Linked DNA regions of Homo sapiens: regions 1, 2, 3, 5, 6 and 7 are each linked to region 4. The links are contacts of gene promoters, found by promoter capture Hi-C in blood cells and fetal thymus (Javierre and others, 2016). All regions are on one chromosome and are shown on one strand. The core of a region is centred on a gene start or on the middle of the fragment in contact, and the rest is flanking DNA. Distances in the headings are between cores, read along the strand shown. Region 1 overlaps LINC02823 (long intergenic non-protein coding RNA 2823). Region 2 overlaps LINC02823 (long intergenic non-protein coding RNA 2823). Region 3 holds the start of EPYC (epiphycan). Region 4 holds the start of PLEKHG7 (pleckstrin homology and RhoGEF domain containing G7). Region 5 overlaps LOC105369896 (a long non-coding RNA gene). Region 6 overlaps LOC105369896 (a long non-coding RNA gene). Region 7 overlaps LOC105369896 (a long non-coding RNA gene).

Region 1 (2,871 bases), core at 227-2,726, 1.3 Mb after region 4:
TACTCTTGAAAAATACTTTGTTCACAGTACAGATTTCAAGTGATTCTCAAAATGAATTTATTCATTTATTCTACAGCTAGTTACTGAACCAATTTATGTAGCCAGCACTGTTTTTTTTGTGTGTGTAATTCAACTAAACTGACCTCTATTCCCTGCTTTAACATAATGATAATACAAATTCAATCATGGCAGTAGCTTCCATTTATTAAGCACTTACGGAATACTCACCACTCAGCTAGGCAGTTTTTTAACGTTATCTCATTTGACTTTGACAACTAAGTTCAAAGCTCTTATCCTCTTCTCAGATGAGGAAACTGAGGCTCAGAGAGGTAAGATAACTTGCCAAACTCAGACAGCCATTAATTGAAGAACTGCTGTTAGGTCCTAAATGCCTGACTGTAAAGTTCATGTTCATTCCACTCTACCACACAGCATTGTAAACAATTTTTTCATAAATTCACTTAACATATATTAACTTGTTTAGTTGATATATTTATTTAAGATGTGTGTGTGTGTGTATGTGAAAGAGAGAGTGACAAAGGCTTATTATATGCCAGGGACAAATATAGATTCATGCATTCAGTCACAAAATATTTATTGAACACCTACTATTTACCATGCATATGTTGAGTGCTGGTAATATAATAGTTGGCATAAAAGACCCACTCCTTGCTGTCAGTGTGATTAGAGCCAAACAGGGTAGAGGGACATTAATCATATTAATATTAATGTATGCAAATTTCAAGCTAAGATATACTTTTGTAGAAATGACAGTTCAAGTTTGCATATTATAATGATTTGAGTGCTCTTTAAGATTCAAAAAGCGTTTCTTCTAAGATGTGCTGCTTCACCTGAGGTCTGAAGGATGAATACAAACTAAATGTGTGTGTTTAGAGGAGGGAGTGCCAGAGGCAAGCAAGTAGGTGAGAGGAGTGTTGCAGATGGCTGGGCAGCACACGCAAATGGCCTGTGGTAGCAGGGAAAAATGCACAGTGAAAGAGGAAGAGGGAAAAGCAGTAGTGTGGAGTTAAATGTGACTGGAGAAGTAGGTAGATAATGGAGAAAATTACTATGCAGCCTTGACCATTGTGCAATGTGAATAGTTTCACCAAATGTCATGGCTCCAGAACTCTTCATCTGCATCTAGATACTGTAAAGGAAACTCTTCCTACAGTGATGGGGGAAAGGAAAGTTAATATACACCCAGTTCAATTTCTGTAACACAATCTTAAAGCAAACTGGACACTGAAAAATTTACCCACACCTTTCTACTCTTACATCCCCCTTGAAGTAGAGATCAGGAACAAACCAGTCTTCCTGAATGGTAAAAATAAGTGGAAATCCAGAGGCAGTATTTCTGGTGTCAATATAAGAATATGATGGAATAAATCAAATGTTATAAACAAATTCTGGTTAAACATGTGAACACTTCCTCCTTGACACCTTGTTCCACAGCGCTCACAGAGAGTGAATGAAAGTAGTGCATGAATTCAGCACCTGCAACTGAAATATACAGGTTCTCACATTGGGCCTGACTAGGCAAATAACTCGACCCACGGAGAACAAAGAAAAGCAGGGGGTTGGTGACAGTCCACCCAGGAGCAGTGCTGAACCTAAGGAATTCCCACCCCCAGCCAAAGAGGGACCATTAGGAGTACAAAATGCAAAGGAGGAAGTGTTCACATGTTTAGCCAGAATTTGTTTATAACAGTTGATTTATTCCATCATTAACAATCCTCATCTCTCTGGTTCCGAAGATTAGAGATTTGTGCACAACTAACCCCAAGGGTTTGTTGCAACAAACAGATTCCAGATCAGGTAGACTCTGATAATAATATCTATTGGATGTGGAGACATGGGTCTAGCATTTAGAATCAATTGATAGCTTCTGCCAATTTGGGCCAAAAACCCTGACCCAGATTTATTGTAAAGCACTCTTCCTGAACAAGTTAGCAAAACCAGGAGGTGGTGTGCACAGAACAGCACAGTTTCTTTCCCACTTATCTTGTTCTAAATCCTAAACTTCTTAATATTCCATTGCACTAATAACTTCTGGATGGCTCCAATCTGCAGCCAAGACTTTACACTCTTGGAACCTAACCTGACTCTTCTGCCCTTTGCCTGGAAGTTCTTGCCTGTCATCATTTTTATCAGTTCAGGGTCAGTTCATTGTTACTCTTCCTTCTCTCATATCCTTAACTTAGTAGAGCAGATTTGACTAGTTGTCCTCTGAGTATCCATTCTCTACTTTTTTTTTAGTAATAGAACTTAAAGTAATTTGAGTCAACAATGTTCACAGCTAACAGACTGTCTTTCCTAGCATCCCTTTCAGCCAGGTACATATGACTAACTTTTGGCCAGTAGTATTAAGTTTTTGGTAACAATTTTCAGTGAAGCATCGTGGAAAAAAAATTCGTGTGCAGCTAGGAAAGTCTGATTTCCCTCTCTATTCCTTCTTCTTCCTATGTTGGAATATAGATGTGATGCCAGGGTCTGAGTTCCCCGTTTTGAACTGGAAGGTGACCATGAGGATAGAAGCCACACACAAAAGATGATAAAAGAGAAGATAGAGGAAGACTCTATGGGGATAATTTAGGAGCCCTGGGCTTTATCTCTGGATTTATTTTGCGTAAGGAAGAATTGCATTTCTTCCTTGATAGACAATTTTCTTTTCCAGTCTTTGTTTCAAATTACACAACTCATGACTTATATACTGAAAGGATGGGAAGTGATCTAATTCAGTGAAAGTCATACCTGGTGAGGGACTATCTCTGTGGGTACAAGTTGGAGGCACCTCAGGCTTTGGCTTACAGAACGGTATAGAGCCACTTTTCATTCTCAGAAATATGTACCATCCCTTTGGAATCCCTG
Region 2 (3,169 bases), core at 105-2,604, 1.4 Mb after region 4:
AATCCTCTTATTTAAATAGCACTCCCCCTGCCCCATCAACCTATAACCCTGTTATTTGCTTTTTTTTTCTTCATAACATCTGTAACCACCTATATATGTTTTGTTCACTGTTGTATTCCCAATGTTTAGAACAGTGTCTGGAGCTCTACAGGGGCTTGATTTATATGTGCTAAATAGAAAAATAATTTGAACAATTATATCTATTATCCAGTGAAATCTTCTCAGTGTATCTCAAATACTACAGTGATACTTACTGAGTATGTTATTAGAATAAATGGAATAGGGTGGTTTTGAAGGATGTTTGACCTAGGTTTAAAACTTTTTTTATTTTTTGAAGATGTTTTTCTTCAAAAGATAATATTTCTCTCCTTATTATATAGTTCATTCTCATTGTGTAATCAAAAAATCTGCTTTAGAGAATTCTGATAAATTTTTCTTTTTAAATATTCTACTTAAGTCCTTATGATGTGTCTCGATGTCTTCATTAAGATTTCCACTTCATTTTGGAGTATAATTGTTGTTTGGGAGCCTACTGTGCTTTATAATCAATTAACATCTTAAAGCAACTATGTGGCACGGGAGCCCTCTGCCTGACACAGGTTCTGACAGACTAACTTTGTATTGGTTTTTCTAACCTTCTTGACGTATTCGGTTGTAGGTAACATCAGTTGCCATTTGTTGGGAGCTCCTCATTAGGTATGGCCTCCCTGGAGACATCCACCTGGCAGAATGAAGATAGAGAGGGAGTAGTTTGAGGTGTAAATCCTAGAGGCTTTATTGACTTCTTTTTATGTATTTACACAAAGGGAATAGGGTTTATGTCCTAAAGTGCAACTTATGGTAAAAAGCTTTCACAAAATTTTAGAGGAACTAAATCTTTCCTCACAAAATCACCATTTATAAGCCTTATGTGTTAATTGGTTCAGGCTGTTACAACAACTTGCCGTAGGCTAGATGACTTAAACAACAAACATTTATCTATCACAGTTCTGGAGGCTGGGAAGAGTCAAGGAAGCTGTCAGGTCAGTTGTTCGGTGAGGGCCTGCTGAGTGTTAACATAAAGAAGATCCATAAACTCTATTACATTATGGAGAATATTAAAACATCTTAATCTAAGCACACCCTAATCACAAACAAAGATAATCAAGGATGTTTTGTTAGTTAAGAGTTTTTGGCTTCAAGGAGCAGAGACCCACCTTTATTTCTCAATTAATGGAGGTTTTGTGCTAAGGATACATATAAAATCAGGAGAAAGAAATTTTACTGAAATAAGAAAATAAGGAATACTTGAGTTTTATGATAGCACTAATGCAGAACTGGAGGGTAATTCAACATCAAAGTCATCACAAATTCATTTTACTCCATGTTCTTACTCAAGTCCTCTCTATTCCTCTTCCCATTGCTCTTGAACCTTACCTTCCTGGGTTAAACCACACATAGTCATCATATATTACTGGATTTGACTTGCTAAAATTTGGGTAGCATATCTATCTATTTTTGCATATTTATTCATGAAAAATATTGGTATGTAATGTTCTTTTATGTTAACATTTTTGTCTGGTTTTGATATCTGTATAATTCCACTAATACATCATGACCAGGTAGTAATTATCCTGGATGTAAGGTTGTTTTAACATTCAAAAATGTATCAGATAAAATCACCATATTATAAACTGAAAGGAACAAACCAAATCAACACTATTATTAATGAGATAAAGCATTTGAAAAAAATCCAACATTCATTCCTGACAATATGTCAACAAAGTAGAAATGGCAGGTAACTTTCTCAACCTGATAAAGTTCAGATATAAAAAAATATACAACTAATATCTTGTTTAATAGTGAAAGACTTAAAGCTTTCTCCCAAGATTAGGAAAAATACAAAGGTGTCTGGTCTTATCAATTTTGTTTAACATTAAAACAGAGGCCCTAGCCAGTGCAATAAGATAAAGAAATTAAAACTAAAGGCACTCATGTCACTAAGAAATAAGTAAAACTTTATTCAAACATTTTATAAAAAATGTAATGAAATATATAAAATGATATTAGAACCTATGAGTTTGACAAACTTATAGATTATATAAAAATCAGTTATATTTCTATATGTTAGCAACCAACAATCAAAAATTAAAAATAAAAAATTGTACCATATGTATTAACAGCAAAAATATGAAGTTATTAAGGAAAAATCTGATAAAACACCAAAAAAATCTGTGCACTGAAAACTGCCTAAAATTGCAGACAGAAATTACTGAAGGTCTAAGTATACTGAGACCCATACTATACCCATGGGTCTTTAGTACTAGTTTTTGTTTTGTTTTGATTTGGCAGAAAATGAAAAAAAAATTTCTAAAATTCACAGGGAAATGCAGTAATCTAGAGAAGCCAAAACATCTTTGAAATAGAAGAACCAAGTGGGAGGACTAACACTATCTAATATCAAGACTTCTTATAATGTGATTTTAATCAAGGCAATGTTGTATTTGTACAAATATTAGAAATAGATCAATGGAATAAAACAGAGATTCCAAAAATAGAGCTACACGTATATGGACAGTGATATTCTTTAAAAGGTGTAAAAGCAGGTCAAAGGAGAAAGAATCATATTCTCATTAGATGATGTTGGAATAATCAAATAATATGCAGAAGATAAAACAAAGCAAAACACATGAAAATGTCATCATAACATAAAATCAATGTCAATTCATTATTTGAACATAACACAAAATGGATATTAGACCTAAATATGAAATTTAATACTATACAATTTCTAGAAGAGAACACAGGATTCTCTGGGCTAGGATTTACTAGATACAACATCAAGAGCATGGCCTATAATAAAGTCAGAATTCACCAAAATTAAAAATTCTGCTTTTCATAAGACACTGTTAAGGGAATAAAAAGGCAAGGTACAGTATAGGAAAAAACATTTGCAAAGCATATATATGGCAATGGATGTGTCTTCAGAATATATAAAGAACTTGTAAAACTCAACAATAAAGAAAATAAACAACCTATGTAAAAATAGGCAAAAGATTTGAATAGATTCTTCACCAAAGAACATATACTGGTATTAAATAAACATGTTAAAAGACACTCAATATCATTGGTTATTTGGGAAATACAAATTAAAATCACAATGAGATAACATTATACACTAAGTGCTGGC
Region 3 (3,057 bases), core at 438-2,937, 1.7 Mb after region 4:
TCTGTTGTTTCTTCTAAAACATTCAGCAGAGCCTGAAGCTAGTGACAGATAAATAGGCTTTGAATCAGAAATGCGTGGAACTGAGAGCTAACACTGCCTTTTTGTGTATACACGTATCCCTCAGACAGACTCAATCATGTCTAGGGACCTGACACAGAGAAAAGCCAAGTTGATTTCCTCTTTTTTTGTGTCACACATGGTGCTGTATCATTTATCATCTGAGTCTCAGTAGTCCCATCTGTGAATAGTGGTAAGCACTCTGCTTAAGAATGTGTTGAGGTGATTAACAATCATATATGAAATCACCTGACACCCCACGTGGACCTTGCTTCTAAAGAGGACAAGCCTAGAAACTTGGATTCAGGCATCTTTCCAGCACTGCTTCTAAAAGTGGCCTTTATATGGTGGGGTGAGACTTCACAGATGCCAGAAATAAGTTCCTGTCTCCAAGATGGCCTCTCTATTTTTTGAGAGGTCTTGGTAGACTTCATACATTACCCATTATCACTGTTTCTGCTCCAAATAAAATTGTTTTTGAGAAAAACAATGCATACTAAGAACAAATCATTTGGAAACAGGGTTGGATGATGGGGATGACAAATAAGAATGCCCTGAATAGATGGGCAAAGACATTTTGAGGGCAGGGAAGATGGGAGCAGAGGCAGGAAGGGGAGTGAGAGAACCTTAAAGACAAACCTTCTTCTCTCCCATCACTTGGCCCAGGAGTAATACCGCTTTCAAAATTCAATACATCTATTCACTTGCAGACATGAAGGAAAAGATTCCTGAAGCATAAGTGAGAACCAAATTCCTAGATTTATCTAAAGCATACCAGAATACAAGATGCAACTTTCACCTTTCTCTAGGACTTATACAATGTAAAATTGAGGTATGGAAATTTAAAGCATATTTTTTCTCTTCATATTTGTATTAAAGTTCAATTTTACAAACCATGGAAGTTAACAAGAGCTTAAAATAAAGCTCCTATTCTAAGGAAAAAATGTGTAATTTGATTTATTTGTCTATGATAGATACAATAACTTTTTTTAAAAAAAGCCCCTTTTCTCCCCAAAACACGCAGATCATATTTATGCATCACTTCTGGATGTAATTTTTTTAAAGTTATGCAAAAGGTTCATTTTTCCCTGTTTTGCTATCAAAGCATTCCATGCAATCAAAATAATTGGGATATCTTTTTTTACTTACCCAATATTAAACAGGTAAGGTTTCTGCAACATTTACCAAATTTCACTTAACATTAATGAAAAGTGAAGAAAGCAATTCAAGACTTCAAGTTTTGGGAAAATTATTTCTTATTAGAACTAAAATATCCATCTATAGTATCACTGTATACATGAACTTCATTTCTTAATTGGTGAGTTTGTTACAGATGAGGTATGTTAAATCCAACTTTTTCCATTTAAAAATTTTAAGGTGATACTTTGGCAATTATAACTCCATTAACATAATTTCAAGAACTTTGTATACTATGTGATTTGGATCCTACTGCTTAGTTTGGGTGACTATAAAATAATTTGAGGTTTTTTAAAGACTGAGAAGTATTTCTCAATATTAGGTTTTGCAAACAGAAAGTTGAGTGTTATAAATTCCACCTCCCACAGACCAGAATTCACAGCCATTGGTCAGGGGCAAATACCACTAGCTCTGCATCCTCAGTCACTTTGTGCCATTTCATCAGGTCAGAGCCAAAGGTAAGTTTTTATACTTGCTTTCTTCTTGGGTCAGAGTTCTTTCCCTACTATAACAACCTTTAAAAAATAATTTAACTTGCCTTAATGTCATCTGGTGAATTTTGATTCAATGGATTTGGTTTATTTTTGTTATTGACTTTGTATTTATATTATTCTTGGAAAATCCAAAATTTTGAATTAGCTTAGGAATTAATAACATACAGCAAATAGTTAATCTCAGTAGTCATGACAGATGCCAATAAAATTAGAGTAGTTTCCAATATATGCCTTAAGTAAAGTTTCCTGACACAGACCACATTCTTTGCCAGTATAGACAGGCACTATTGATTGATATTAATTGAAATTTTGTGAAAAGGGAGGAAATAGTGAAATTTCCTGAGATTAAAAGTATTGTAATGATTACATGACATTATGCATTTAAAATTTTTTTGAGCTATATATTGAAAGTTTTAAATACACAAATTTTAAAATATTAATAAATGGTATAAAGTGAACACAAAATTAAAGTGTTAATTAAGAAACTACATTAAATGCTAATACAATTACTTGAAGAAAGGAATATAAATTTTTTAACTAAACATAGATAGATGCTGTATATATTTTTAAGATTCACACAGCCTGCCTTATAGTTGATAGCTCTAGGAGTGATGCAAAATGCAAGCAAATTCTGAGATGTAGCTATATGTAATCAAATATAGTATGATGTGAGAAAAAAGGCCAGCAAGTGTATAATTTCTTTGAATAATGGAAGTTGCCAGAAACATATAAGGAAAAATTTTTTTTAAGTTGGTAGTGGCTTCTGTTAATGTTTCCAACTTGATTATGGGAGAATGGTTCCTGGAAGATTTGCAAACCCACTGTTTTATTAAGTAGGACTTTGTTGGTAATTGCCTAGAACAGTTCCAAATCTGCAATCCTGCAAAGACTTCTGCAAAGGCAACTGAAATAGAGGCTTAGTTTATCCTGTGTGAATAAGAAATTTATTTGAAGAAAGCATAGGAGAGCTAAGAAGGAGCTCCTTGTACTGCTTCTTATTCTCAGAGGAATTTCATATCCTTCTGCCTAAACCTGCTTCATAAAGGCTTTCTTTCAAGTAACTGAAGGTCATTTTGTCTGCCAGTGCATTCAAGTTTAAAAGTAATATTTATCATGAATTCCCTTTTATATGTATGCATAGGTAGTAACACCACAGGTACTGTTCTTAAAGTAAACCCAAGAAGTGTGTCCAAATGTAAAAGCCTCTAAAATTAGACATGCTTGATACAGAATTTTACAATACTTTGCCTGCTCAATAAGGGATCACTAGGTAACATTTTGGTAAGACTAACTTAAATGTTTCAAATTA
Region 4 (2,948 bases), core at 419-2,918:
CTTATTCACAAAAGAAATCTAAAATTCTTAATGTTGTGTTTGCTTTATTTTGAGCTGAGGACTCAATTGTTATAGAACTTCACATGTAGAACTAAAACCCATGAGGTACCCTTTTTTGCAGAGTGGAGGAAAGAGGGCAATGCCAGTTTAGGAAACTTATGTTCAGTTAAGGTGAGATTGTACTAGTTTTGGTTTTAGATTGGTAATTCCTGGAGGCTGCTCTGAAGGTTGATACCAACATTGCTGGAGAGGTATGAAATGGTCCCTCCCTACCATTGATAAAATAAGGTACATTGTTGCTACATGGAGAGGCCAGTTCCTCATTCTCCCAACAAACAAATGCTGAGCTGAGCATCAAATCTATAGGTACTTTCTTTCTTTTTTTTTTTCTTTTTAGAGATGGAGTCTGGCTCTGTCGCCCAGGCTGAGTGCAGAGGTGTGATCATATCGCACTGTAACCTCAAACTCCTAGCCTCACAGAATCCTCATGCTGCAGTGCTCCTGAGTAGTTGGGGCTATGGATGCTTACCACCCCACCCAGCTAATTTTGAATCAATAGGTACTTTCACACATACATACAATCAGGGCCGTTCTATTATTTTTCTCCTTTAGAAGACTGTCCAAGTTCTAGGCAGCAACAATGTTAAAGGAATTCAGTATATTTGCATAGGCACTTGCATAATAGTTAGATCAGATTTCTTAGTCTTTGGGTTTCCCCTCTGTCCTTCTGGCCTTTTCCTCTCCTCTTTTGAGGGGTTAGGATACGGCTTTGGGTTTCCTTTGTAGTCGTTCAGACACAGGGGTGTAGCTGCTGGTAGGAAGTTATTTATGGCCAATAGGATTCACATCGGTAAGAATTATTTATTAGCCACTGTCTTAAATATTGGAACCAAGGCAATAGTAACTGCCGACATGATGCACTGCGGAAATGGAGAAACTTTAAAAACAGCAGGGCTTAGGGAGGTGGTTTGCAGAAAGGCAGGAAGAGCTCAAGCACCAGAAGAAATGGGTCTGGTTTCTCTTCCAGTATCACCGCCAATTGGCTGTGTGACCTAGGACAAGCCACTTCTCCTCTGCCAACTGCCATGCAGCATTTACCAAGAGGACATCAAAGAACCTCCCTCACAGGCCTGTTGCAGAAATTAAATGAGATAATGGCTAAGGCTCCTGGGAAGCTTTCCCTAAATGACTACACCCAGTGGATCTGGTAGAATCAAAAGTTAACAAGTCAATCCATTCATGCTAACTCTTCTTTATGTTTAAAAGAGGAAATTAATACATGGTCACCATAAAGAAAATTCACCAACCTTTGACCTTCCAAGCTTTGAGAATCCAGCAAACACCCACCCACACTGTTGGGGAAGCCATCTCACTGTACTAGAAATGAAACCATTGCAGGTTAATGATTCACTAATTCTAATGAGACCTGGAGAGATCAGCAAAACAAGCGAAACTGATAGCAATAGGACAAAAGGAAAGTGCAAGAGAGAAACCCAGAAAGCAGCTGAATGTTGCCTTTAATACCTGTAAGATGGTCTGTCCCTGAAGGCAACTGCACCCAGGTGGGTCCCGAGGCTCCTCAGAACCCGCAGATCCAGAGTGAGCTGCCAGGCGAGGGCTCGGAGCAACAAGTTCCACACCTGTAACAATGCGTCCTCCTGGCTGAGTGAAAGCAACCTTGCTACCAGCTGCAATGAGGAACTGGTCTCTCCCCTCCTTAGAGACATTTCCAGTTATTTGTTTATGAAAAAGCCTAAAGGGAAGCCAGCTCAGAATCTAAGGCAGCCTAAGAACAAGTCAGGTAAACAACGGCTGATCAAATACAGAAATGATGCAAATGTAACTTTTTACTTCCTCTTGAGGCATTCAACAAATCATCACTCATAGTTCAGTGAAGCAGTTCTAGGTTTCTATTTCATTTATTTTCTCTAAGGTTGTGAGATGCATTCTTTGGGACTCTACTTTCTTCACATCATAAAACATTTTGTGTTGATCTATTTTATTAATGACTTGCTTTGATAAGCATTGAATAGTAGAGGAAATGATTAGAGCACCAGGGAGTGAATTTGTGAACATTAGTTTTCAAATAATTAAAATGCAAATGGAAGAGCATTTATATCTACCAGTATTCTCATTAGATCAGTACCCCAAAGAATATTTATTTGATGCCTAGGTGGAGATAATGCATATGTATGCAGCATTAAACAAAAATGTCTATAGACTTTCCCAAAACAAAGTTGAAGTAATTCTAATGAAGTCTAATTCACTGAAGTTTTCATTGATTGGACTCATTACAGATACTTACTGTGAAGGTTCCCTGAGGTCGGTAGTTCTTAAAGTAGGGTCCCTGGACCAGCAGTATCACTATGACTTGAGAACTTGTTAGAAAGGAAAAATCTTCCCCCTCCATGCTCTCCAACCCCTGGAACTCTGGGATGGGGTCAGAAGTCCGTGGTTTTTTTTTGAGACAGGGTCTCACTCTGTCACTCAGGCTGGAGTGCAGTGGCACGATCTCAGCTCACTGCAACCTCCACCTCCTGGGTTCAAGCGATTCTCCTACCTCAGCTTCCTGTGTAGCTGAGATTACAGGTGCACACCACCAGGGCCCGGCTAACTTTTGTATTTTTAGTACAGACGGGGTTTCACCATATTGGCCAGGCTGTCCGAACTCCTGACCTCAGGTGGTCCACCCACTTCGGCCTCCCAAAGTGCTGGGATTACAGGTGTGAGCCACTGTGCCCAGCCAGAAGTCTGTGTTTAACAAGACTTCCAGGTGATTCTTACATGGGTTAAAATTTGAGAACCACTGCCCTTAGAGGAAAAGAAAAAAAGGTCTAACTTATAGATGTTGGCCTTGTGATAAACTTTATATTAGTCTTTAATTCTCTCATATTGATCTTACTAGAACATCATTTACTTAGAACTTTGAAAAATGACTTGATCTCCTG
Region 5 (2,810 bases), core at 135-2,634, 1.4 Mb after region 4:
AAGATGTGACTGAATTGCTGCAATCTCATAATAAAACTAACAAATGAGAAGTTACTTTTTGTAGATGTTCAAAGAAAGTGGTTTCTTGAGATGGAATCTACTCCTGGTGAGGTTGCTATGAATGTTGTTGAACAGAGGACTTAGAATATTGCATAAACTTAATTGATAAAGCAGCAGCAGGGTTTGAGAATATTGACTCCAGTTTTGAAATAGTTCCACTGTGGGTAAAATGCTGCCAAACTGCATCACATGCTAGATAAATCTTTTGGGACACGAAGAGTCAATCAATGGGGCAAACTTCATTGCTGTCTCATTTTAAGAAATTTCCACAGGCATGTCAACCTTCAGCAACCCCACCCTGATTGATTAGCAGCCATCGACACTGACACAAGATCCTCCACTGGCAAATAGATTATGATTCGCTGAAGGCTCAGATGATTATCATTTTTAAGCAATACAGTATTTTAAAATTAATATATGTAGATTTTTTAGACATAGTGCAACTTCACACTTAATAGACTGTAATATAGTTTGCAAATAACTTGTATATGCACTGGAAAACTGAAAAAATTGTGCATCTCACTTTCCTGTAATATGTGCTTTAAAATGAAAATTACAATATCTCCAAGATATGCTTGTAGAACTTCCCATCATTGCTGAAAGCTCTCTTGGACAGCAGTGTTATAGATTGATCATTAATTGTAGAGAGTATAAAGAGAGTATAACACAAGGTCAGTTACATAGTGTGATAGGCTAATCCAGTGTGTAATAGCTGAAAATATTTGTTTCATAATTTGTTTGGGTTCATAAGAAAATTTACAACCAGCCATGGAAAATTATCAGGTTAATGTCTTCTTATGCCTTCTCCCACTCTGTTTCTTCTCTACTTTGGACTTCTCTAATACTTTTCACTTTTTAGAGTTCACAACAAATCTTTTTGAGTACTCTATTTATTTCCTCTTGTGTGTGTTATACAATTATACAGTTATACAAATTTTGCAGTGTCTGTTAAATGTGTACTGTACAACAGGCACTGTACCAGGCAACTAAAAAGGAAGACACAGAAGATGCTATATAATAATAAACCAGGCAGGAGCAAACACATCTCCAGAGTTCAACCGAGATAGGAATGATCTCCTCAGACCATTTGAAGTAGCAAAAGCAAGTATTATTAGCTTAACTGTGTATATGATGAGATGGAAGTTTATTCTGAGGGGTGAAGTGACTTGCCCAAAATAATACAGAAGATAGCTGGGTACAGTGGCTCATGCCTGTAATCCCAGCACTTTGGGAGGTGGGAGGATCACCTTAGGTCAGGAGTTCGAGACCAGCCTGGCCAACATGGCGAAACCCTACTAAAAATATAAAGATTACCCAGGCATGGTGGTGGGCGCCTGTAAGCCCAGCTACTCAGGAGGCTGAGGCATGAGAATTGCTTGAACCTGGGAGGGGGAGATTGCAGTGAGCCGTGATTGCGCCACTGCACTCCAGCCTGGGGGATAGGGTGAGACTCTGTCTCCCGAAAACAAAACAAACAACAACAATAAAAATACAGAAGATAAAAAACATATCTTCAAACTGGAATACATGTTTTTAACTTCAAGTCCAATATGTCCAATGCACTTTCTAATCTCTCTATTACCAACCCCATGGTAGAGATTGGTTTATGCCAACTTTCTAATTTTTTCCAACATCTTCCAAGGAACTATCGAATAAGTCGTGCCTTGTATATATATCGACATTCTCTTTTTTGTAAGTTCAATTTTTAGAATTTTCTTGAATAAAGACAGAATTATATTTGTGTTTTTTACCCAGACTTCTCTTCGGAGCTCTAAACTAAGTGGTAAAACGCTCCTGGGTTGAACTGATCTGTGCTTCCTGATGTTCCATCAATACATTGAAAATACTTTGAAATCTTAGGGGTTGTCAGAACTTAAACACAAATGAATGCTCTTTCTATATAGAAAGCAATACCATATATCTATAGAGAAAGATAATTCATTTATGTTTAAGATCCATATACATATATGCATATATATGTGTATATATATTATGCATATATATGGATCTAATTCTTGTCGATTGGCAGATGGATGGGATTACACTGTGTGCAGGCAATCGGAGCAGCGTCAGTAACCCGCAACTTTTCAGTTTGGGCACTTCCCATGACTTTCTGCATAAAAGCATGATCCGTTTAGGCACACCCAAATCCAGATGTTATCCTAATTCTGGGTCTTATATATTTTCTCTTTGCAACATTCCTTGCTTGGAAATTTGGTGGCACCACTCCATCAGTCAAGTGGCCTTAACAGAACCCTATACTGTCTCTGAACCATATTATTTGTAAATGTACCACATAAACCATATGTCACTCAGTACGGCCTCCTAAGAAAGAGTATGATAGAGAATTCCTCCCACACATACAAGTTATCAGTCAAATGTTAAGTTTTATGTTTTGAAGGGGTACTCTGTGCTACTTGCAATACTTTTAGTCCCAACTTGTATTAAAGTGAGATGGTGCTGCATTTACTTACAAAATAAACCTAGTTAGAGATTACCTTTATCTTCATCAATAGAAACTTCCAATAGTGTGGCCATCTTTCTTTTTTTATTATTATTATACTTGAAGTTCTAGGGTACATGTGCACAACGTGCAGGTTTGTTACGTATGTATACATGTGCCATGTTGGCTTGCTGCACCCATTAACTCATCATTTACATTAGGTATTTCCCCTAATGCTATCCCTCCCCCATGCCCCCACCCCATGACAGGCCCCAGTGTGTGATGTTCCCCGCCCTGTGTCCAAGTA
Region 6 (2,935 bases), core at 395-2,894, 1.4 Mb after region 4:
ATCTATGAAACTCTTTTTATTTCAGGCAAACCAGGAGGGTTGTCCACCCTAATAAGTGGCTTAGACTTTCTAAGCATCAGGTCGTTCACCTGGAATTTATACATATGAGATAAGATTCAAATATATCTCTCCTTCTCTCTCTATATATAGATATATACTCTACTCTACTACCTATAAATGTTAATTATCTAGAAGATACACCATGAATGTAATAGATAAATCACAGCTATAGGAGGGGATGATATAACAAACTGGGCAGCAGAATTTGCACTTTGAACACAAATTCACTAATACAAGTGGCTTCTCTAAAAACTCCTGGAGTAAAATGAAAATTTAAGTGGAAAACAAAATGCAATTTGATTTAGTAACAGTAGAAGGAGTCAAGAATTTGAGATATTTTGCAGTCTGAAAAACAGATTTTCAGTTTTTAAGAGTAGACAGTATTGGCAATACTATTTAGCCCACAATTGAAAGGAGGGAAATTGAATGTCATTTTTCACTGAATTTCCACAGAATTTCATGGTATATCTTCTTTAAACAAAGTAAAAAGGCATCTCCATGATTTATTTTCTGATCTTACTTAATCAAGTTTTAACAAGAGGTTTTCAGGAATGTGAAGACTCCTTATTTCTGTGGAAGAACTCCATTTATTCAGTTGTTCTTGCAGTCCTAGAATAAGGGCACACTGAACTCCTCCATGCCAGAAAATGAACCTGACATTGTGGGTGTATGATTATCATCCCTATCCTGGAGGAATTCATAACTTGAGGGGGAAGTCAGGTATGTAGTGAGATGGGTAAAATGCAATCTGATACATGCTAAATAGAATTCTGAACAGTACTGTGGAGACAAAAATGAAGAACAGCTATTGCCTAAAGGACTTTTCAGAGCTTGTGACACTTGAGTGGCGTCTTAAAGGATGAGTTAGGATTCACCAAACAGAACAGAATTAGAAAGGCTTTGCCACAAAAGAAACAGCATATTCAAATGCAAAAGAGTATGAGGAAGGCATCTCTTTTTGGGGGAGAGCAATGCTGGCAGAATGTTGGTTAGAAGATCAGAATGATAGAGAGAAATGCATTTGGAGAGACTTTCCTAACATTATTATTTTATAACACTAAGATCTTTAGCCTTTTTCTTGTAGTTGTTAAGGAAACATCAAAATTATTTAAAGAGAAAAGTGAGAAGCTTGGATTCTTGTATTTGAAAAAATAACTTTGGCAGAATGTGTTGGAAGGGTTAGTGTTATGAGGAAAACTACAGATAAAAAGTCTGGAGAGAAGTCTACTGTATTATTCAGAAGAAACATAAAAATAGCCAAAGCAAGCTAGTGATCATTGAGAAAAGGAAGAAAGTAGGGTTCAGATTGAGCGTTTTTCTCTAGGACTCTTCAAATCATTGACTGCAGAGGAATGGTAGGAGGCAGATTCATTTGGGCAACAGGTTGGATTGAGCATTTTAGGTGGAATTTCACTAGCTTGACCAATCCTTGTTGCATCAGGAGAGTCATAGAAGGAATCTGTGCTTGAACCTTGGGATACTTTGGGACCATTGCAACTTCAAAAGCCTGTAATTTAAAATAATATTATTTTATGCCTTTCTTTGTAATTTTGATCATTGTTGGTTTACAGTTGGTTTTGTCTCAAATAAGAACAGAAACCCCTGCTCTTTTTTGCTTTCCATTTGTCTGATAGATCTTTCTCTATCCCTTTACTTTAAGCCTATGGATGTCCTTGCATGTAAGATGGTTCTCTTGAAGACAGCATACAGTGGGGCCTTGCTTCTTTATCCAACTTGCCACTCTGTGCCTTTTAAGTGGGATGTTTAACCTATTTACATTAAAGGTTAACATGAGTATGTGTGAATTTGATCCTTTTATTGTGTTGTTAGCTGGTTATTATGTAGACTTGATTGTATATTTTCTTTCTAGTTTCAATAGTCTATGTATTTAAGTGTGTTTTTGTGGTGGCAGGTACCAGTCTTTCATTTCTGTGTTTAGTATGGAAATGACCTCTTGTAAGGCAGGTCTAGTGGTATTGAATTCCCTTAGTGTTTCCTTGTCTGAAAAAGATTTTATTTCTCCTTAGCTTATGAAGCTTAGTTTAGCCAGATATAAAATTTTCAGTTGGAATTTTTTTCTTTAAGGATGCTGAACATAGGCCCCCAATCTCTTCTGACTTTTAGAGTTTCTATTGAAAGGTCCACTGTTAGCCTGCTGGAGTTCCCTTTGTAGGTGAACTTCTCCTTCTGCTTACTTGTCTTTAATATTTTTTCTTTCACATTGGTCTTGGAGACTCTGATGACTACCTGTCTTGGGGATGGTTCAACTCAAAAAGAAGACTGAACTATTCTAAATATATATGCACCCAACACTGAGCACCCAGATTCATAAAACACATTCTTACATACCTACAAAGAGACTTATATAACCACACAATAATTATGGGAGACTTTAATACCCAACTGACAGTATTGGACAGATCATTGAGGCAGAATACTAACAAAGATATATGGAACCTAAACACAACAGTTGACCAAATGGAGCTAACAGACATGTACAGAACATTTGACTCAACAAAAACAGAATATACATTCTTCTCAATTGCACATGGCACATATTCTAAAATTGACTGCACACTCAGCAAGAAAGCAATTCTTAACAAATTTAAAAAAGAAAACCCTGAAATCATATGAACCATCCTCTTGGAACACAGTGCAATAAAAAGAGAAGTTAATACCAAATATCTCTCTCAAAACCATACAATTAAATGAAAATTACACAATCTGCTCCTGAATGACTTTTGGGTAAACCATGACATTAAGGCAGAAATCAATAAATTAGTCGAAACTAATGAAAGCAAAGATACAACATACCAGAACAATAAAGCAGTGTTAAAAGTTTTTATTTTATTTTATTTTATTTTATTTTAAAGTT
Region 7 (2,982 bases), core at 286-2,785, 1.4 Mb after region 4:
TTGCCCAGGTTGGAGTGCAGTGGCACAATCTAGGCTCACTGAAACCTTTGCCTCCCAGGTTCAAGCAATTCTCCCACCTCAGCCTCCCTAGGACCTGGAATTACGGGTGCACCCCACCATACCTGGCTAGTTTTTTGTATTTTTTGTAGACATGGGGTTTCACCATGTTGGCCAGACTGGTCTCAAATTCCTGACCTGAAGTGATCTACCCTCCTTGGCCTCACAAAGTGCTGGGGTTACAGGCCTGAGCCACCATGCCCAGGCAAATATTTATTTTTAGAAAAAAAAATTCTTATATATTGATCTTGTAACCAACAAACTCCACAAACTATTTGTATATATTATCTATAGATTTTTTAGATTTTGTATACACCAGACAGCATAATACATAAATAAAATCAGTTTTGATTATTTATTTCCAAGAGTTATATATTTGAAAATATTTCTTGTTGAAGTAAACCTGCATATGGTAAAGTCATGAATCATAAGTATACATCTTGATTAATTATCACAAAGAGAGCAATGCAAAAATTAATTCTAGGTGAGAAAAACATGACCTGAACATATGCTGGGCTCGTCTCATTTAATTAACTGACTTATAACCCTGTAGGAAGAATTTTTATAATATTAAATTTAATATAAATGGGATCATAAATGTATTAGTCTGGGTTCTCTAGTGAAATGGAACCAATAGGAGACAGATATATCTATATCTACATATTTATAGCATTCTCTCTCTATGTATATATATATATATATATATATATATATATATACACACACACACACATATATAGACACACAGAAATATCTAGCTGTATCTATATATGGATATATATGTTTATTTATGTATCTGTATATGTGTATATGTGCTACATTTGTTAAACGAATAATAATAAATGTGTAGGTTTATTTCTGTATTCTTCATTCTGTTTCATCTGTTGATTTGTCTATTTTTGCTCTAATATTGCAACTCTTAATTAGAGTAGCTTTATAATAAGACTTACTACATAGTTCATGTTCTCTAACTTGGTTCTTCTTTACAAGCTTGTTTTGGGTGTCTCGGCCCTTTATATTCCATATAAAAGTCATGAAAATTGCTTATCTACCTTAGAAAAGAAAACTGGTTAAGAATTTTATTGGGATTGAATGGGATCTATGAATCAATTTCAGGGACTGACATTATAACAACATTAAGTCTTCTGTATCCCTCTATGTTATTAGGACTTCTTTCATTTCTGTCAGTACTATTTTTTGGTTTCTTTCACAGATGTTGCACTTTTCTAAAGATTTATTTCTTTTTTATACTATTGAAAATCTTATTAATTTTTTTCCATTTGTTTGTTGCTAGACTAAAAAATACAATGGATTTTTTTTACATATTGATGTATCTGGTGACCTTGCCAAATTTTTTTAGTAATTCTGATAGTTTTTCTTTAGATTATTTTGGATTTTCTTTTTTTTTATTATTATTATACTTTAAGTTTTAGGGTACATGTGCACAATGTTGGTGGGACTGTAAACTAGTTCAACCATTGTGGAAGTCAGTGTGGTGATTCCTCAGGGATCTAGAACTAGAAATATTTGACCCAGCCATCCCATTACTGGGTATATACCCAAAGGACTATAAATCATGCTGCTATAAAGACACATGCACACGTATGTTTATTGCAGCACTATTCACAATAGCAAAGACTTGGAACCAACCCAAATGTCCAACAATGATAGACTGTATTAAGAAAATGTGGCACATATACACCATGGAATACTATGCAGCCATAAAAATGATGAGTTCATGTCCTTTGTAGGGACATGGATGAAATTGGAAATCATCATTCTCAGTAAACTATTTTGGATTTTCTACAACATAATCAAGTTCTCCACGAATAATGAACATTTTATTTCTTTATTTCTGGTGACTATCCCTTTTGTTTCACTTACTTGCCCTTTGCATTTGCCAAGATCTCCAAAACAATGTTAAATAATTATTGTCCTTTTGTTCCAATTTCAAAGGAAAAGCTTTCAACATTTCTCCATCAACTAACATAATCACTATCAGAGTAAGAAATTTCCTTCTATTTATAGTTTGCTGAGTTTTAAAATCATAAATCCATGCTGAAATTTTTCATATGTTTTTATTCCATCTATTGACCTGTTGATATTTTTTATTTTCAATGAATTGAATTATTACACATTTTTAAATGTTAACTAATCTTGCAGTGTTTTGAGTATATGTTTTTAATGTATTGCTGAATGCAGTTTGCTGTTTTTGTTGGAGTGGAATTTTGCTTTGACAGTTATGCATAAGATTGGTTTGTACTATCATTTTACTTTAATGACTCTGTTAGGTTTTGCTATTAAGTTTATGCTGGCCTCATGAAAGAAGTTGGGAACCGTTCTTTTCTGTTATTTGATAGAGATGTTCCTTCTCTTTTTCCTTTTTCTTTTGTGGCTGATAGTAGTGTAAGTAACAGGGATTACCTAGTTTATAAAGGCAATTGTTACAGATTGATTTATTTCCTCCCAAATTTTTGTGTTTATTTCATAACCCCCAATGTGAGTGTATTTGAAGAAAGGCTCTTTGGTGAGATAATTAAGATTAAATGAGGTTATGAGGATGGGGTCCTAATCCAATAGGACTGGTGTCCTCCTAAGAAGAGGAAGATACATCAGAGATGTTTCACTACACATGCATAGAGCAGAGGCCATTGAAGACACAGCGAGAAGGTGGCCATGTGCAAGCCAGGAAGGGAGGCTTCTCTAAAATCCAAACTTGATAGGATCTTGGTCTTATCTTTAACAGATAAATTTCTGTTGTTTAAGCTACCTAATTTGTGGTCCTGTGCTATGGAAGCCTGAGCAGACTAATATAGTTATTAAGAAATAAGATGTAGGCTGGGGGCAGTGGCTTATGCCTGTAATCCCAGCACTTTGGGAGGCCGAGGCGGGCAGATCACGAGGTCAGGAGATCGAGACCATCCT

Evidence for each region. Contacts are between HindIII fragments. The CHiCAGO score rates a contact against its expected background, and 5 or more counts as called.
Region 1: a fragment that was not itself captured here is called in contact with the fragment with the promoter of PLEKHG7 in region 4 in 10 of 17 cell types (naive CD8 T cells, total CD8 T cells, activated CD4 T cells and 7 more); the score reaches 13.1 in naive CD8 T cells.
Region 2: a fragment that was not itself captured here is called in contact with the fragment with the promoter of PLEKHG7 in region 4 in 6 of 17 cell types (non-activated CD4 T cells, total CD4 T cells, activated CD4 T cells and 3 more); the score reaches 14.7 in non-activated CD4 T cells.
Region 3: a contact is called between the fragment with the promoter of EPYC here and the fragment with the promoter of PLEKHG7 in region 4, in 1 of 17 cell types (total CD4 T cells). The highest score is 5.4, in total CD4 T cells.
Region 5: a fragment that was not itself captured here is called in contact with the fragment with the promoter of PLEKHG7 in region 4 in 6 of 17 cell types (non-activated CD4 T cells, activated CD4 T cells, total CD8 T cells and 3 more); the score reaches 8.9 in non-activated CD4 T cells.
Region 6: a contact is called between a fragment that was not itself captured here and the fragment with the promoter of PLEKHG7 in region 4, in 5 of 17 cell types (activated CD4 T cells, non-activated CD4 T cells, naive CD4 T cells and 2 more). The highest score is 10.4, in activated CD4 T cells.
Region 7: a fragment that was not itself captured here is called in contact with the fragment with the promoter of PLEKHG7 in region 4 in 4 of 17 cell types (activated CD4 T cells, total CD4 T cells, naive CD4 T cells and 1 more); the score reaches 6.6 in activated CD4 T cells.

Annotation. Positions count from the first base shown.
Region 1 is chr12:91,359,064-91,361,934 of GRCh38, reverse strand. All of the region lies in intron 2 of LINC02823 (long intergenic non-protein coding RNA 2823), which reads right to left. All of the region lies in intron 7 of LOC105369896 (a long non-coding RNA gene), which reads left to right. Among named protein-coding and RNA genes, the nearest start is that of LINC02823, 34 kb to the right of the region's middle. The HindIII fragment of the contact is 8,216 bases long and covers 1-2,871 here.
Region 2 is chr12:91,337,099-91,340,267 of GRCh38, reverse strand. LINC02823 (long intergenic non-protein coding RNA 2823) reads right to left here. Exons shown (of 4, transcript NR_183611.1): 2 at 636-721. All of the region lies in intron 8 of LOC105369896 (a long non-coding RNA gene), which reads left to right. Among named protein-coding and RNA genes, the nearest start is that of LINC02823, 12 kb to the right of the region's middle. The HindIII fragment of the contact is 1,008 bases long and covers 851-1,858 here.
Region 3 is chr12:91,003,602-91,006,658 of GRCh38, reverse strand. It overlaps EPYC (epiphycan), which reads left to right and starts at 1,687. Exons shown (of 7, transcript NM_004950.5): 1 at 1,687-1,712. The HindIII fragment of the contact is 5,756 bases long and covers 1-3,057 here.
Region 4 is chr12:92,701,709-92,704,656 of GRCh38, reverse strand. PLEKHG7 (pleckstrin homology and RhoGEF domain containing G7) reads right to left here and starts at 1,668. Exons shown (of 17, transcript NM_001377329.1): 1 at 1,525-1,668. RefSeq lists an enhancer at 1,468-1,527. The HindIII fragment of the contact is 11,169 bases long and covers 1,325-2,948 here.
Region 5 is chr12:91,320,578-91,323,387 of GRCh38, reverse strand. All of the region lies in intron 8 of LOC105369896 (a long non-coding RNA gene), which reads left to right. Among named protein-coding and RNA genes, the nearest start is that of LINC02823, 4.9 kb to the left of the region's middle. The HindIII fragment of the contact is 6,024 bases long and covers 1-2,810 here.
Region 6 is chr12:91,302,430-91,305,364 of GRCh38, reverse strand. All of the region lies in intron 8 of LOC105369896 (a long non-coding RNA gene), which reads left to right. Among named protein-coding and RNA genes, the nearest start is that of LINC02823, 23 kb to the left of the region's middle. The HindIII fragment of the contact is 908 bases long and covers 1,191-2,098 here.
Region 7 is chr12:91,281,645-91,284,626 of GRCh38, reverse strand. All of the region lies in intron 8 of LOC105369896 (a long non-coding RNA gene), which reads left to right. Among named protein-coding and RNA genes, the nearest start is that of LINC02823, 44 kb to the left of the region's middle. The HindIII fragment of the contact is 972 bases long and covers 1,050-2,021 here.